Regions from separate parts of the Homo sapiens genome. Here region 1 is linked to region 2. Evidence: promoter capture Hi-C in human tissues and cell types (Jung and others, 2019). All regions are on one chromosome and are shown on one strand. Each heading gives the region's core, a stretch centred on a gene start or on the middle of the fragment in contact. The rest is flanking DNA. Distances are from core to core; before and after follow the strand shown. Region 1 overlaps CACNA2D1 (calcium voltage-gated channel auxiliary subunit alpha2delta 1). Region 2 holds the start of CACNA2D1 (calcium voltage-gated channel auxiliary subunit alpha2delta 1).

Evidence for each region. The method cuts DNA at HindIII sites, captures the fragments that hold promoters and counts their contacts. A contact is called where the count stands out against the background at its distance.
Region 1: a contact is called between a fragment that was not itself captured here and the fragment with the promoter of CACNA2D1 in region 2, in 2 of the 25 tissues and cell types used here (IMR-90 fibroblasts and neural progenitor cells).

The regions. Positions count from the first base shown.
Region 1 is chr7:82,383,231-82,387,156 of GRCh38, reverse strand. All of the region lies in intron 1 of CACNA2D1 (calcium voltage-gated channel auxiliary subunit alpha2delta 1), which reads left to right. Among named protein-coding and RNA genes, the nearest start is that of CACNA2D1, 59 kb to the left of the region's middle. The HindIII fragment of the contact is 5,768 bases long and covers 1-3,926 here.
Region 2 is chr7:82,442,476-82,446,495 of GRCh38, reverse strand. It overlaps CACNA2D1 (calcium voltage-gated channel auxiliary subunit alpha2delta 1), which reads left to right and starts at 2,719. Exons shown (of 39, transcript NM_000722.4): 1 at 2,719-3,131. The coding sequence starts at 3,037. RefSeq lists an enhancer at 3,714-4,020. The HindIII fragment of the contact is 9,545 bases long and covers 1-4,020 here.

The DNA.
Region 1 (3,926 bases), core at 1,048-3,547, 59 kb after region 2:
CATAGTGAGGGCATTTAATGATTTATAAAAGACATATGACCATTTGAAATGACCTAATTGTTCTCAAAGAACTGTCTTAAGTATAATAATTAATAATTAAACAGTCAACAACTCTTTAACCATGTTATAGATAATATATTTCATTTGCCACCACTTTATACTATATACATTAAGAATGTGTGTAGAGGGTGCTAATCTTGTTGCTTAGATGTAATTATATTTACTTGATTGTTAAAAGCTAAATTATTATAGTATATTTTTACAATAAAAAGGAATTTGATACTTTTGCATATAGAGTCTTTAAATGGATGTAGGGCAGTATTTTATTTCACTATTTATATTTGCACTGTGTGTTTTTGCTAAGTATTAGTTATTTTATTTATTTATTTATTTATTTATTTATTTATTTATTTATTTATTTTTGAGACAGAGTTTTGCTCTTATTGCCCAGGCTGGAGTGCAATGGCTCAATCTCGGCTCACCACAACCTCCGCCTCTCGAGTTCAAGTGATTCTCCTGCCTCAGCCTTGCGAGTAGCTGGGACTGCAGGCATGCGCCATCACGCCTGGCTAATTTTTGTATTTTTAGTAGAGACGGGGTTTCTCCATGTTGGTCAGGCTGGTCTCGAACTCCCGACCTCTGGTGATCTCCCAAAGTGCTGGGATTAAAGGCATGAGCCACAGTGCTTGGCCAGTGTTAGTTCTTAATAGGCACTTCTTTGGCTCTAGAAGGCTATGATAAGTATATTAAAATGTAATTTTGAAACAAAAACTAATTTTTCCCCTCAATCTCATGTGCAAATGTATTCCAAAGTATATTTTGACCTTTGTAATGATGTTTGGTTGTATTTTATGTAAAAGTGTCCATAGGAGAATGCAGCTCAAAGTAAGAGTTGAGAATCTGCCTGATTAAAAGGGAAGAATATGCAGTACTATAGTATTTTTTTCCCCTTGCTGAATGCAGTTATTGCAGTGGGTATTGTCATTTCAACAGGCAGAATTGCTGCTTACTTAATGGTAGCTGGTGGTCTCCAGGGCACTTTGCGGATTCCAAGAATGCATAGTCATTCCAAGAACCAAAAATATTTTGAAATTACCTGAAAAAAATTCTAGTTCAGTCATTTCTAATGCGTTTACAACTCTAAACCTAAATATTAATGCTAGAATGTAGCTCATATTATATAATAAAAATAGACTGGGCATGGTGGTTCACGCCTGTAATCCTATCAATTTGGGAGGCCGAGGCAGGTGGATCACTTGAGGTCAGGAGTTGGAGACCAGCCTGGCCAACATGGTGAAACCCCGTCTCTACTAAAAATACAAAAATTAGTTGGGCATGGTGGCAGGTTCCTGTAATCCCAGTTATTCGGGAGGCTGAGGCAGGAGAGTTGTTTGAACCTGGGAGATGGATGTCGCAGTGAGCCGAGATTGCACCACTATACTCCAGCCTGGGCGACAGAGAGAGATTCTGTCTCAAAAAAACAAAACAAAACAAAACAAAACAAAACAACCAAAAAACCCCTTAAATATAATGTCTGAAACTGTACTAGTGTAAGTGGTATCTGGCTGTAGTGTTCCAAAAATACATTTGCAAAAATGTTTTGGAAAACAGACAATATGTTAGCATTAAAACAACAGGTTCCCACACCAGTTTGTAGAGCTAATTTAACCCATATTGTACCACATAGGGTTACAATGGACTATTTCAACTATATTTTATCACCAGACTTTTGTGTTCATTTATCGTCATGAGCATCAGTGGAAGACATTTGTAAGCATCAGGGAAAGAGGATGGAGGTGGAGATGTGGGAGAAAAAGTATGTATGAGAAAGTCTTTTTCTCTAAATAACTAATAATTCCTTCTGTAGTAAGTTATGATCCATTTCAATTTGACATTCTGAACTTTCTTATTCCAGCAGTGGGAGTGAAGATTCCGGCCTCTTTGGATGGCCAGTAGCAGGGACAGAAAGGGACAGACGAGCACAGCATAAGCTGAGCAACATACAATCGTGCTCCTCCAGTAGCTTGCAATCCAGAGGGAAGGCTGGAGTTTAGGTTCATTGTCTTGTGCAGTGGTGAAGTTTCATAAAAGATGTTGGGACAAGGAAGGGGAGGGAGTCATTAATGCCTACAGAGGAGAAAGCTTTTATATTAGGCCTGTGTTTCAGTAGGGGCTAAAGTGTGCAAGAGCATTGCAATACATTAATGTGATTTATGCTCCATTTATGTGCATTAATTGATTCTTACATCATGCCCCAAAGTTTTCTCTTGTGTCTTGCATCAACATTCAGTAAAAAAGAACTCCATCTCTGCTGTTTTTGGCAGTGAGATATATTTTTTGTTGATTTCTGTCCTAACGTCTACTGATCTCAAATTACATGAAAAGTGCCATTTTTGTCATTTATATACAAGACAAACAAGCTTTACATTTCTTTTATCCTTAGCATTTAACAAAATGTTTATTTCACATTATAAAACAAGTTCTTTCCAGACAAAAGTTTTTTCTTTTTTCCTCCCTCTTCTTCACTTCACTTTTCCTCCCTCTTCTTCTTCTTCACTTCTCCTTTACCAGTGATTTTTTTTTTAATTTCAAAATATTTTACAACTCTGCTGAGGCTGCTATAAGAAAAACCATAGACTGGGTGGCTTAAATGAAAGACATTTATTTTTCACAGTTCTGGAGGCTGGAAGTCCAAGAATAAGGTGCCGACTCATTCAAGTTTTGGTGAGAGCTCTCTTTGTGGCTTGCATGTAACTACCTGCATGCTGTGTCTTCACATGCTGGAGAAAGAACAGTCTTTCTCTCTCTCTTCTTATAAAGCTGCTAAATGCATTATGAGGGCCTCATACTCATGATCTCATCTAACCCTAATTGCCTTGCAAAGGCCCCTTCTCCAAATACGGACACACTGGAGTTTAGGGTTTCAACATACACATTTTTTGGGGGAGACAATTCAGTCTACAGCATTCAAACCAAAACCAAAATACCCCTGGTGACGTCTTCAATTGTCACCTTAATTCTCTTGGTTTTAGTCAGATGAAATGTGATAAATGAGAGGTTTCAGTATATACTATAACCGAAAAGGAGGTAGTTTTTCTGTATCTCTCACAATTTCTTATTTTCAACAGCCTCTTGACTTTACATGGTGGAAATGTACCTCATATAGACTCACATATTTTTGCAGCAGCTGCTTTGGCTTGTTTGTTCTAAATAATTATTTGTTTTTTTCAAATGTGTAAAATTTTGATAATCTACATGTGTCAGTGTGAAGAGGTACTTTATAAATGTTTGCTACTGTCAGTATTGGAAATCTTAATTTATATGGAAAGAACTTTGAACAAAATAGTCACCTAGCATGTGTATATTAGTAAATAAACATTGGTATCAAATATACTTAACTCATAATAGGAGAATGTAGGCAAAGTGATAAAAGTTCCTGTGGAGGTGGGTGCCTGGCACAGCTCAGGTGATAAACCAAAAGCATTAAAAATACTGGGCTTGTTCCTACTCTGAGAGGATCAGGTAATTCAGCATTTCACGGAACTGTGTACCTTTTTGAGCATATTTGCCACTATTTCATTTTGTATGTATGAAGACCAAGGGTACTGTCCATTTTTATTGGAATTCCTGAGTCTGTTCTATCACCTATTTTAAATAACATCATTCTTCTGTGATTCCCTTTTCCCATGTAACTATTACAAATCTTCTTCCTACTTTCTATGTCTACATTTTTGCTGCTCTATTTCTCTTTAGTGCTTTCTCTCCCCTAGAAGGGCTGAATATGAATAATTGAATGGCAAGCAGTTTTTAGTTCAGAGTGGCAGTGGTACCGCTGGCAGTCTTGCCTACAAGCATCCTTGGGATGGAAAAGTTGAGCCTCAGGGCCAGTTTTTTTCTCTTTTGGAACAGATTAGTGGCCCAAAAAT
Region 2 (4,020 bases), core at 1,470-3,969:
ATGATTAAATGCAAAAATCTCCTGCAATACTTCACTAACTTACTAATTAAAATATTTCTTCTTAAATGAATAGTAGATACTGATTTGCGACTTCTTGCTCATTTATAACCTGTAATATATTAACTGTATTTACTGCACATTTACATCATTTACTATAACAGCTTAACAACAATCCTTATGATTTGTCAACATGTTGAACAGCAAATTTATCGTGATTAAGCAAAATTTTATTAAGATTAATGGGATATAATCTGATTTTAAGGGAATTTTCCAAAATAACAGAACTGAGCTGAAAAAATGCATTGTTATGGGTATAGTTAATCCAACAGAAACCTAATGCTATGTTATGGAAATGGTCTTCTTTTAGCTGTCATACATTTAAAAAAAAACCACATTTTGAATATCCTCAATAAGAAGGTTTAGATTGGTAAAAAGCAATTAATAGCAAACCTCGCAACAGAGTATTAAACAATGATTTAGGCTCACAGATGATAACCAACCCTTTCAGTAAGAATTGTAGAAGCAATATCTTTCCTCAACAGCTTCACATATTGGAGAACTCAGTGCTTCAACAGAGTGATCCAAAGAAATTGAGATTTGGCTCAAAGGCCAACAAAGTTAATAATAAAGGCTGACTTACCTTCTCTACAAGCTTATTACATTCTTTTATTCTTTAAGCCCTTTCTCCTAAAGATATAAAATTGGAAACAGTGTACCATAGTGGGAAGTCTGGAGTTGATGTTGAAATAATTGACAGAATATATAACAATGGTATTTTTAGGTAGTGAGGCTATTGATACCAACATATCACATAGACAATAATGGGCATCTCTAATTCTGCTCTTCTTAGTCCTCATGCTGGGGAAGAAAGTCTGCTTTTGAATTATTAAAAATGGAAGAAATGATGGATTTGACTATTTACTTATCTAATTTTGGAGTGGAATGCTATCTTCAGTTATATAAAATATCCCTCCTGAGCTGTAGTTCTCAATCCCATTACATCCCACTTCATCCCTCATTTGCGCAGCTCCTGCTGCCACAGTATCCATGCCTAGCATAAAACAAACTAAGTTAAGTCACGGTGGGGTGCCTTTTGTGAGGCCACTCAGAGTAGAAAGAAACAAAGAGCAAGACAGAGATGCGAAGAACATAAAGAAAACAAATAAGGCATTAAAAAAAGGAGAAATAAGTGGGAAGGAAAAATAAATTCACCAGGCTAAGCATCATAAAATCACACACGCTCTTAAAATTTGGCCAGTAATTAATAGTAGTAGTATTATTATTAGTCTTTGTTTTGGGAGATTGCCTTCAGAGAGCTGGAAAATTCATTTCGAATTAATAAGGGTCTTTTTCTTTCAGAAGCATCTCCTAAAAATAAGAACGGGCTAATTAAAAATCTGACAGCCACCCCGATACTTACAGAATTTTTGCATATGCAGGATAGTCATCACAAATTGTATTCTCTGCACGTCATGTCAAAAGTATTCTCATACACTACTAGAGGGAGCTTAAGAATTTAAGGTGTGCAAGAATATATTTCTATCTTTGGCCCACCAGGGCCCTCTTGTAGGAGGCCTGTGTTGGGCGGGAGAGGCCTAGTCGCAGACCCTGTCTTTTCAAGGAGAAAGCCCGCCACTGCTTCCTCTGAGTCTGGAGATAAAACCAGTCCGGCATTGCTACTCCCTAGCTCTCTCCCCCTCCCTTAATTCCTCCTCTACATTTCAGGCGCATTTCTCAGAGTGCCACCTGTTCCTGCTGCTTACCCTTTTCATGCCTTCGCATTGACAAAAGTGAGCTCACCCTGCGGTAACCTTGTCAGGCAGGGCAGGCCAGTGGCCAGAGCAGGGCGTTAGGACCCTTTTGGAGGTAGTCCCAACTGGGATGCTGCAAAGCGCTTCTCTTACTACTGTCCTCCCTAGATGCAGAATTCGTCCCTCCACCCCTCTGTCCAATGGAACCACAGGGCTGGGAAGATTTTACAGCGTCAGTACTTCTCTGTCCGTCCACAGCCCGGTCCCTGAGGCTCTGTCCTCGCCAGGTGAGCCGAGCAGTACCTGGGCGTGGGACCGCTGGCACAAAGGGCACCCAGCCCCGGCAGAGGCTCTAACCTATGGCACACGCGGGCATATAGTGCCACCTGGTAGAGAGTCAACAGTGGTGCTTTAAAATGCAATACAAACCCCTCCTACATTTGTTGTCAAATCACTTCACGATTCCCAGGCAGGCACTGGATTCTGCGCCTGGGAGTAGGGCTGGGGGGGAACGCTGCCTGCATGTGCAAAAATAACCCCCGAAGACGCGAGCCAAGTCCTGGGTTGGAGCCTCTGCAGCCTGTGGATGCCCGCTGGGCGGCTGGCCGTCCCCCGGGAGCCCCGCGGGGCTGGTCCGCTCCGCCTGCGCACGCCGGGCGGCGGGAGCGAGCCGGCGCCGACTTTGGGAGTTCCTGGCTGCCTTGTATGGAGGGCTGCTCCCGGCCCGTCTCCGCCCGACTGCTCTGACGCCCAGCCCTCCCGCTGCCCACCCCCAGCCGCCTCCCTCTGACTTGCCTAAGAAGCCAGACGGAGCCTCTCGCTTCCACAAGTCTCTCTGCCTGCCATTCCCCGATTCCTGCAGCCACCCCCACCCTCCAGCGCCGTCACCCCTCCTCCGCCCCCGCCCCCGCCTCCGCCTTCGCCTCGGCAATCGGGGGAATAAATCAGGGAGGAAACCGAGAGGGAGAGCGAGAGCGCGCGAGCGCCGGCGGGCTCGCCGAGGTCTGTTTCCAAAGTCGCCCTTGATGGCGGCGGAGGCAAGGCGGCCGCGGCGCGGAGCAGCCGACGCACGCTAGTGGGTCCGCCCGCCACCGCCCCTTCCTCGGCGTCCGCTCCCGCCCTTGCCGTCCCCCGCGCGGCTCCGCGCCTCGGGCCCCGGGCGCAGCCAGCCCTCCAGACGCCCGCGGTCCCGGCGGCGTGTGCTGCTCTTCCTCCGCCCGCGGTTTCCAGCGCCGCTCCTTCCCCCGCTTGGGCAGGGAGGGGGCATTGATCTTCGATCGCGAAGATGGCTGCTGGCTGCCTGCTGGCCTTGACTCTGACACTTTTCCAATCTTTGCTCATCGGCCCCTCGTCGGAGGAGCCGTTCCCTTCGGCCGTCACGTAAGTCGGCGGGCCGGGCAGGGAGCGCCGGCCGAGGGGCGCCGCGGGAGTTGGGGGTGGGGGTCGGTTCCCGAGTCGCGGGGCTTTTCCGCCCGTGGGGGTGGGGAGCGAGCGGCCGGGGAGCCAGGCTCGGATGCGGAGACGCCGGGCAGGCGGTGCGCGCCGCTCGCCGCTGGAATGCGTCCCGAACCGGCGTCTCGGGCGCCTCCACGGGGCCGGGCACTGGGGGCCGACTGTCCCGGGAAGCGCCCGCCGACGACTCGCGGCGTCTCAGCCCGTCTCTAACGGGATTCTCTAGACTTCAGAGTGCAGCCGTACTGGGGAAAAAAGTTTCCAGCCAGCTCACCCGCTCTGATTCAACCCAGTTCAATAAAAAGTTATGTTTTGGTTGGGTAATTTACAAACAGGTAATTTCAGGCTTGCCGAGGTAGCGTGGACTTCCCCCGCACTTGGCCTCGGAGATGCTCTTTAATTGCTGTAGTGCCCAAACTCGTTTTATCCCACGTTACTGGATGCACTTGACAGCCTTCCGATTAGACGCGTGCTGGCTCCCCGCGGCCGAGCGTGCTGTCCACGCAGGGGGCTCGCAGGTACTGGGACCACGCGATCCAACCTCCCCAACCCATTATTTGAAACATCTAAGTGTCGGCAGACACGCGGTCCCTGTTCTTCAAATGAATAGAGCCTATTCTTTGAAGGAGGGACTATTTCCAGTCTCCTACAAATTTTCTTTTATTTTTACCATTTCTAAAATAACTTTTAAAAACCTCGCTGCTGTTCTGGAAATAGAGGGCTTATAGGTAGCTATAGTCACACCACAGGAAGGGAATGAAAAATAATAATTCTCTCCTTTCTTAGCAAAATAGAATCAAACTCAATGGCACATATA